Regions from separate parts of the Homo sapiens genome. Here regions 1 and 2 are each linked to region 3. The links are contacts of gene promoters, found by promoter capture Hi-C in human tissues and cell types (Jung and others, 2019). All regions are on one chromosome and are shown on one strand. Each heading gives the region's core, a stretch centred on a gene start or on the middle of the fragment in contact. The rest is flanking DNA. Distances are from core to core; before and after follow the strand shown. Region 1 overlaps ABCC10 (ATP binding cassette subfamily C member 10). Region 2 overlaps UBR2 (ubiquitin protein ligase E3 component n-recognin 2). Region 3 holds the start of RRP36 (ribosomal RNA processing 36).

Region 1 (2,700 bases), core at 201-2,700, 420 kb before region 3:
ACTCTGTCCAGGGTTACTTCTCATTACTGCAGAGCTTTTTCTCATGCTTCGCTCAATTCCTAATATCTGGCTGGAGCTTCATTTCCTCCTATTTCTCTCCCAGTAAACTTGCAGGTGGTCACATCCCTCTGCATAAAAATCTTTCAGAGTTTAAAAATTTTTGTTTTTACAAAAAGACCATTCTAAACCTGACTCCTTTCTCTTCTCTGAAGATATGAGAATGTTCTCAGAGACCCTGGGCCTTTAAGTTCCCAAGAGCACCCAGTCACAAAGCCCATGAGTCCCAAATACACTGGCATTTTACCAACGTACTCCTTTTCCCTCCTGTTCTCCCAGTTCCTCACACCAGTTCTGTGAAGGCGGGAGGCAGCAATGACTGGCTCAGGGCACACATGCAGCAGGGGGCAGAGTCTGTACTTCACAATCCCCTGCCAGACCTGGGCAGACACCTCCCTCACACGGGGCTCCTGCCCCCATTACCAGCCCGGATGAGGCGCCCGGCCTCCATCAGCAGCACCGCGTCAGCCCTCTCCAGGTACTCAGTGCGGTGGGTGCAGAGCAGCCGTGTGGTGTAGCTCAGCATGCCCAGGATGCACCTGTGCAGCAGGTGGTTGGCCACATCTGCATCCACAGCGGCCAGAGGGTCATCGAGGAGATAGAGCTCCTTTTCCTATGGAGACGTGAGGGTACCGTGGGCACCAGGACCCAAAGGCTCTCCGGAGAAGATCTCAAAGTGATCAGAGAAGACAGTTGAGAGAAACTCTGGGGGCTACCCCTACACTAGCAGAGAAGGAGGTGAGACCTGAGGGTGGACATCCCTTCAGGCAAGAAAGAACAGCACCCCAGGGCCAGCACTCAGCTTTCCTAGGTCCCAGGCCCTCAGCCCATATAACACTTTTTTTTTTTTTTGAGACATGGTCTTGCTCTGTTGCCCAGGCTGGAGTGCAGTGGCATGAACACCACTCACTGCAGCCTCAATTTCCCAGGCTCAAGTGATCCTTCCCACCTCAGCCTCCTGAGTAGCTGGGACTACAGGTGCATGCTATCAAGCCCAGCTAAATTTTTTTGGAGACAGGGTTTCATTCTCATCACCCAGGCTGGAGTGCAATGGTGTGATCTTGGCTCACTGCAACCTCTGCCTCTCGGGTTCAAGCGATTCTCCTGCCTCAGCCTCCCGAGTAGCTGGAATTACAGGCATGTGCCACTATGCCCAGCTAATTTTTGTATGTTTTTCAGTAGCGATGGGGTTTCACCATGTTGGCCCAGCTGGTCTCGAACTCCTGACCTCAAGTGATCCACCCTCCTCGGCCTCTCAAAGTGCTAGGATTACACCAACTAACTTTTTAAAATTATTTTTTGTAGAGACAGGGTTTTGCCACATTGCCCAGGCTGATCTTAAACTCCTGGGCCCAAGCAATCCTCCTGCCTTGGCCTCCCAAAGTGCTGGGATTACAGACCTAAGCCACCATGCCCAGCCTACAAATACTTTTTAAAGGCCTTGAACTCTGCCTTAAATCTGCAAAAGGGGATGAGATGGCCAATACCTCAGGAACATGCAAGGGAGGAGGGAAGGAACCAGATGCTAAGGAAAATATTCCTATCCTCCTAACTCAGCCAAGTTCCCAAGGCTCTGGACTCCCCCCACCTCCCTGCCACTGCAACCTCCATCTTTAACTGACCTGGTAGACAGCACGAGCAAGGGCAATCCGGGCACGCTGTCCTCCGCTAAGGGTGACACCCTTCTCCCCCACCTCTGTCTGGTCTCCAGCAGGCAGGATCTGATGGAACAGGTGCCCCAGTGGGTCAGGGAGCTCCCATTACCTTCTGGCCCACTTCCTATCCCTTTGCAGGAGATAGTGGGAGTCAAGAGAAGTAGGGAGCTTGAGGAGAGTAGACTTAAATTTGGGGTGAGCTAGTCAGAGGAGACAAGACATAATTCCAATAACATCAAGCACTTATTGAACACTATGTGCCTAGCACTTTACAGGCATTCTCTCATTCAAGCCCCAATGTAATCTTATGAAGATGGTATCATTTCCTTTTCTCAGGTGCAACCAAAGCTCAGACAGATTAACTAGCTGGCCCACAGCTAGTAAGGGGCAGGACACAAGTTCAGATTCAGATTCTTAACTACTTTGTTACATTTACTACCCTTTTTTTTTTTTGAGACGGAGTCTCGCTCTGTCGCCAGGCTGGAGTGCAGTGGCACAATCTCAGCTCACTGAAACCTCCACCTCCTGGGTTCAAGCGATTTTCCTGCCTCAGCCTCTCGAGTAGCTGGGACTACAGGCGTGTGCCACCATGCCCAGCTAATTTTTGCATTTTTAGTAGAGACGGGGTTTCACCATGTTAGCCAGGATGGTCTCGATCTCCTGACCTTGTGATCCACCCACCTTGGCCTCCCAAAGTGCTGGGATTATAGGCGTGAGCCACCGTGCCTGGCCTATTACCCTGTCTTTTTAACAGGCAAGGTAGTAAGGTATCTTGGGCAGATTTGATGTAAAAGCTTTTATAGGTTTTTACTTTTTTGTGTGTGTGAGACAGAGTCTTGCTCTGTCGCCCAGGCTGGAGTGCAGTGGCATGATCTCAGCTCACTGCAACCTCCGCCTCTCGGGTTCATGCAATTCTCCTGCCTCAGCCTCCAGAGTAGCTAGGACTACAGGTGTGAGCCATGACACCCAGCTAATTTTTGTTTTTTTT
Region 2 (2,700 bases), core at 145-2,644, 330 kb after region 3:
TTAAAATGTATAAAACTGTACACTAAAAAGAGTTAATCTGTTTGTAAAATATACCTCAATAAATGTGACTTAAAAAACAAGAGTAGGAACAGGCCAGGCACAGTGGTTCACACCTATAATCCTAGCATTTGGGAGGCTGAGGCGGGAGAATCATTTGAGCCCAAGGGTTCAAGACCAGCCTGGGCAACATAGCGCGGCTGTATCTACAAAAAAAATACAAAAATTAGCCAGGTGTGGTGGCATGTGCCTCTATAGTACCAGCTACTGGGAGGCTGAGGTGGGAGGATTGCTCGAGCCCAGAAGGTTGAGGCTGCAGTGAACCAAGGCTGTGCCACTGCACTCCAGCCTGTGGGACAAAGCAAGACCCTGTCTCTTTAAAAAAACCAAACCAAACCACCACCACACCAAAATCAAGAGTAGGAAGACAGGGAGGAGCATGTCAGAAGGGGCTTCATGAGTTCCTGGAACTAAAGACAAGAGTGGTGAAGGCAGTAGGCTGGGAGCAGTGTTACTGACCAGGAGGCAGGGTGAGTGCAATGGAAACCTTGCTGTTTTAGTTTGATGCTCTCAAGAGGATTTCAAAAAAAACAGAATTCTCATGGGCAATGACTCCCCTAGGAAGACAGTGTAGCTGCCTTTCTATGTCTCTCTCTCAAAAGCAGGAAGTGGTCATAAAAAAAAGAAAAAAAAAACCTCCAACAGCCCTGAAAAACCAGCCAGCACACTAGGGGAGTGTGTAAGGACAAGGACCTTGAGATCACCAGGTAAGGATGAACAAGAGTTTAAACCCAGACACAGGTCTTGGAGTGCCCTGTTTCCCAGTGATTTGAGTTCCAAAATGGTCCACAAAGGTCACACGCTGTCATGGCTAATGAATATGAAACTTAATCAGCTGAAATGATGATCACACTTTCTCTGAGAAGGTCAAGATAGTTTGGCTAGTGGCCATAATAATATAACCCTCTTAAATTTAAAGCTAATACAGATATCCCACTATATTTGTAGCAAGGTGACACGGGCACCTTGCTGTGGCAGGTAAATGTGTAAAATGAAACAGAAAGATATATGCTAACCAAAAGTAATGCCAACACCTAAAGCATTTATTTGGATATCTTTAAACTTTTTACATATGATACATTCCAAATTTTACAAGTTGTCCACAGATATTAAAGTTATAGCCAATTTATTAAACAGATATGATTTTCCCTGATATGGAAAGCGTATGTTATATAAACATTTCTACAATAAACATAAAACATGCGGAACAAATCATAAAACTAACATGATTTGTAAGGTAGGAAAGACAACTAGCTTAACACCAGAAAATAAAAAGGTGTGTATGTTGCAATTTCATGTAAATTCATCTTCTCCCAGGCTCTGTGATATTCTCAGAGAATGAAATCCAGAGACAACCTTTGCTAACTCCAGGCTCCTAGGAAGTCGGACCGGAAAGCTGGAGTATTGTTATGATTTGGTGAAAATGTTTATAATCCACTTGTACAGAGAGAAACCTGGTCTTATTATTTTAAATTTTAGCTTGGTGAACATATGAAAAAAAGCCAAAAGAAGCTTACCTTAAAAGCTAAAGAAACTGGATGTGACAGAGGCCAAAATAAACATGAATTATGCCACCTACAGCCCAAACAACCAGATCTTATGAATGAAGGCCAGAAAAAGGGGGAGAGAGGTGGACTCAAATGTGAATTTTCTTTCTATTGGTCCTCCTCTCAGCTGGGTGAGTCAGTCCCACGCAAGAATGGCGACGGTCATCCTCCTGTCAAGAGGGGGCGGTTCTTTCACACACTACCTTGGAGAGGAATGTGGCTTCTACATCCTCACTTCTTTTAGCTTCAGTTCCAGATTTCTGACCTTCTTCCTGTGATACTGTGGAGCATGCCTAGTTGACTGGTAGCTGAGTGGAACAAAACTTGTAGATGTAATTCAAAGAAAACTGATTGAAAGGGTCAGTTGCATTGGTTAAAAAAATCCAAGAGCCTCTTATTACTCATCTGTTCCTTAGCCCCACCTTAGACAGGCTCAGAATTTATTCCTCTACTAAGTCTTCAGTCACTCTCTGCATGTATTCAAGCTCTCAGCAGTCATACATCAAACAATAGTAGTTGTGTGGTACATAATAATTATAAGCTATTTTGTAAGTGGCTCTTGTTCTAGGAAGGCACCTCAGTAAGAACAATGATCAAAAAGAATAAAAAGCCTGGGTGCCAGACCATCCCAGGAATGCACTAAGTGAGCCAGCAAGGAAGCAGCAGCTTGTCTGTTCCAGGAAATGCTGGCTGGGTGGGAGTGGGTTCTCACCTTCTTCAGTGTTTGGCTTTAGATGATATACTCTGCCAATTTAGCCTTAGAAATAACAAGAGAATATCACTGTCTGAAACATTAGGGTATTCTAAAAGAATACAGATAAGAAAATTAGGATACTCTTTTAGAATACCTATTATTTTAAACTTAAGCTTGGTGAACATCTGAAAAAAAGCCAAAAGAAGCTTACCTTAAAAGCTCAAGAAACTGGATGTGACAGAGGCCAAAATAAATATCACTTATGCCAACCACAGCCCAAACAACCAGATCTTATGAAGGAAGGCCTCTCATCTAGATATTAGGATATCTAAAAGAATATCCTAAATTTTTAATCCATATTCTTTTAGAATATCCTAATTTTTCTTCCTAATTCTAAAAGAA
Region 3 (2,700 bases), core at 181-2,680:
AAAAAGCCTGCAGCATTTGCTGGGCACAGTAATCCTGTAATCCTTGGGAGGCTGAGGCGGGTGGATCACTTGAGCCCAGGAACTGGAGACCAGCCCTGGCACCTGGTAACATGATGAGACCTGGCTGGGCGAGGTGGCTCACGCCTGTAATCCCAGCACTTTGGGAGGCCGAGGCGGGCGGATCACGAGGTCAGGAGATAGAGACCATCCTGGCTAACACGGTGAAACCCCATCTCTACTAAAAATACAAAAAATTAGCCGGGCGTGGTGGCGGGCGCCTGTAGTCCCACTACTCGGGAGGCTGAGGCAGGAGAATGGCGTAAACACGGGAGGCGGAGCTTGCAGTGAGCTGAGATCGCGCTACTGCACTCCAGCATGGGCAACAGAGCGAGACGCCGTCAAAAAAAAAAAAAAAAAAAAGGTGAGACCTTGTTTCTACATTAAATAAATAAATAAATAAATAAACAAACCCATCCGTGCAGGCGTGGTGACGCGCCTGCAGTCCCAGCTACTCGAAAGGCTGAGGTAGGAGGATCTCTTGGGCCCGGGAGTTCGAGGCCGCAGTGAGCCGTCATGGTGCAACTACACTCCAGCCTGGGCTACAGGGCGAGACTTTGTCTCAAAAAAATAAAAAATATAAAAAATTTAAAAAACAGGCTGGGCGCAGTGGCTCACGCCTGGAATCCCAGCACTTTGGGAGGCTGAGGCGGGCGGATCACGAGGTCAGGAGATCGAGACCATCCTGGCTAACAAGGTGAGACCCCGTCTCTACTAAAAATACAAAAAATTAGCCGGGCGTGGTGGCGGGCGCCTGTAGTCCCAGCTGCTCTGGAGGCTGAGGCAGCAGAATGGCGTGAACCCGGGAGGCGGAGCTTGCCGACATCGCGCCACTGCACTCCAGCCTTGGCGACAGAGAGAGACTCCGTCTCAAAAAAAAAAAATTAAAAAAACAAAGTCTACGGAATCTGCTGAATTCTGATCTACTAAGCCTTCAGCAGCCATGCATGCCTTTTCCTGCCTCCATGCTATTGCACATACGTTCCCCATCGCCGAAAACCCTCATCCTGCCGTGAAGAAACTTCTCAGGATGTCCTAATCCCGGAAGCATCTACTCTCACCCCCCACTTTCCACTGCACTGGGGGCACCCCTAGTGTAGCGTCTGCCTCTTAGAGAACTTGGCAGTCTTACCGGCACCGTCTCTGCAGGCTCAGGGCCCCGCCTGGGAATCTCCTTCCCCTCCCCAGCCCGCCCTGCCCCATGCCCTCACCCCTCAATAGGTCGCGGGCCACGGCCGCGGGCTCCAGGCCCCCGCCGTCCTCCTCGCGGTCCCGGGCCCCGCGGGGACGTCGGGCCCCGGCCCCGGCCCCGGCCCCGGCGCGGTAGTTAGCTCCCGGCATCAGCTGGCAGTAGCGCTCGGAAGACGAATGGCGCCGCTTCCGCTCACGGCAGCCCCTGCCCCGCCTCTTCCGGCGTTCCCGGTCTCAACGTGGTGACGAATGGGCAGAAAACTGCGCGGTCGAGGGCCAGGGAGCCGGGCCCAAAGGATAACCCGCTCTGGAGACATTGTCGCAACCTTCTGCCCGAGTCGCAGGGTGCTGGGTTCCACGCCCGAGAAGCTTGGACCAGGCCTTGGTGGCATTTGGTTTCCTAATACCCTTGGCTGAGAAGCCAGAACCTCAGGGTGCTTGTCCTCGGCACCCTGCCCCCACTGCAAACTCCAGCCTTCTCCACCATATTCCACAAAAACACACAACACGTTTGGAGATTTTAATTAATTTTTATAAAATCTGAGCTGGCTGAACTTCAGAGTACAGCGACAGCTCAAGGAAGGGTGGGATTTATCTGCTGGTCCCCACCTCCCCAAGACGGGGAGAAGGAGGTCTCATGCCAACAGCTGCAACTCCTTTCAGCTCCCAGTCAAGGCTCAAGGCTCAAGCAGAGGGGAGGGGATAGGCAAAGGGGGAGGGGGAAGCTCCTGAGGCTCAGACACTGCTTGCTTCTCCCTTCTCCCCATTCCCTTCCCTTCCCAGCAGAACCTGGCTGGCCCTGGGCAGAGCTGAGGCCCAGGAGCAGCTGAAAGGAGGTGGATGGGGACAGAGCACCAAGGGGAAGGGGCCCTCGGCCCAAGGGGGGAGGAACCTAGCCCCCACCCCGCTACAGCTCCCCACTGAATTCACAGCACAGAGAACACCTCTCGCCCAACAACTCCACATGGAGGTATACCAAGTCCAGGGGTCAAAGGAGCAGGTGGGTGACAGATGGGCAGGGGCAGTGAAGATGACAGCAGGCTCAGGAGGGGAGGTGGCAGAAACTTCCTCCTACCCATGGGAGGAGACGATGGGGCGACTGATATTGCTGTTGGTGGTCATGGCATTCAGCTCCCACCTGGAAGGCCAACAATAAGAGACAGAAAGAAGAGGGGGCCCTCAGCCCAAGCTAAGGGATGTTTGAACCAAGCTAAAAACACACCAGTCTCTCCAACTTCCTAAAGGTCAACCACCCACAGCCACCTCTTACTTAAGAGACCTACTAGGTTGAACAATCAGAACCCACCCACCACCAAATCCAACACCACCCACTCCTCTACCTCCAAGCTCATATGGATTTCCGGTTTATGTTTATGTATGTATGTATATTGCAGTGTCCAGGCACCTGAGATCTGTGTATACATGTCAGTCAACATCCCAACCTGCCTTTCC

Evidence for each region. Contacts are between HindIII fragments. The study calls those that stand out against the background at their distance.
Region 1: a fragment that was not itself captured here is called in contact with the fragment with the promoter of RRP36 in region 3 in 1 of the 25 tissues and cell types used here (dorsolateral prefrontal cortex).
Region 2: a fragment that was not itself captured here is called in contact with the fragment with the promoter of RRP36 in region 3 in 1 of the 25 tissues and cell types used here (spleen).

Annotation. Positions count from the first base shown.
Region 1 is chr6:43,440,940-43,443,639 of GRCh38, reverse strand. It overlaps ABCC10 (ATP binding cassette subfamily C member 10), which reads right to left. Exons shown (of 22, transcript NM_001198934.2): 9 at 1,680-1,778; 10 at 481-670. Among named protein-coding and RNA genes, the nearest start is that of MIR6780B, 7.7 kb to the right of the region's middle. The HindIII fragment of the contact is 4,033 bases long and covers 1-2,700 here.
Region 2 is chr6:42,691,885-42,694,584 of GRCh38, reverse strand. UBR2 (ubiquitin protein ligase E3 component n-recognin 2) reads right to left here. Exons shown (of 47, transcript NM_001363705.2): 47 at 1,080-2,700. Among named protein-coding and RNA genes, the nearest start is that of PRPH2, 29 kb to the left of the region's middle. The HindIII fragment of the contact is 3,806 bases long and covers 1-2,700 here.
Region 3 is chr6:43,020,353-43,023,052 of GRCh38, reverse strand. It overlaps RRP36 (ribosomal RNA processing 36), which reads right to left and starts at 1,430. Exons shown (of 7, transcript NM_033112.4): 1 at 1,269-1,430. The coding sequence starts at 1,398. It overlaps KLHDC3 (kelch domain containing 3), which reads right to left. Exons shown (of 11, transcript NM_057161.4): 11 at 1,759-2,386. The coding sequence ends at 2,320. RefSeq lists enhancers at 415-1,146, 1,529-1,578, 1,639-1,748, 1,147-1,878 and silencers at 1,229-1,298, 1,309-1,358, 1,369-1,438. The HindIII fragment of the contact is 3,944 bases long and covers 1-2,532 here.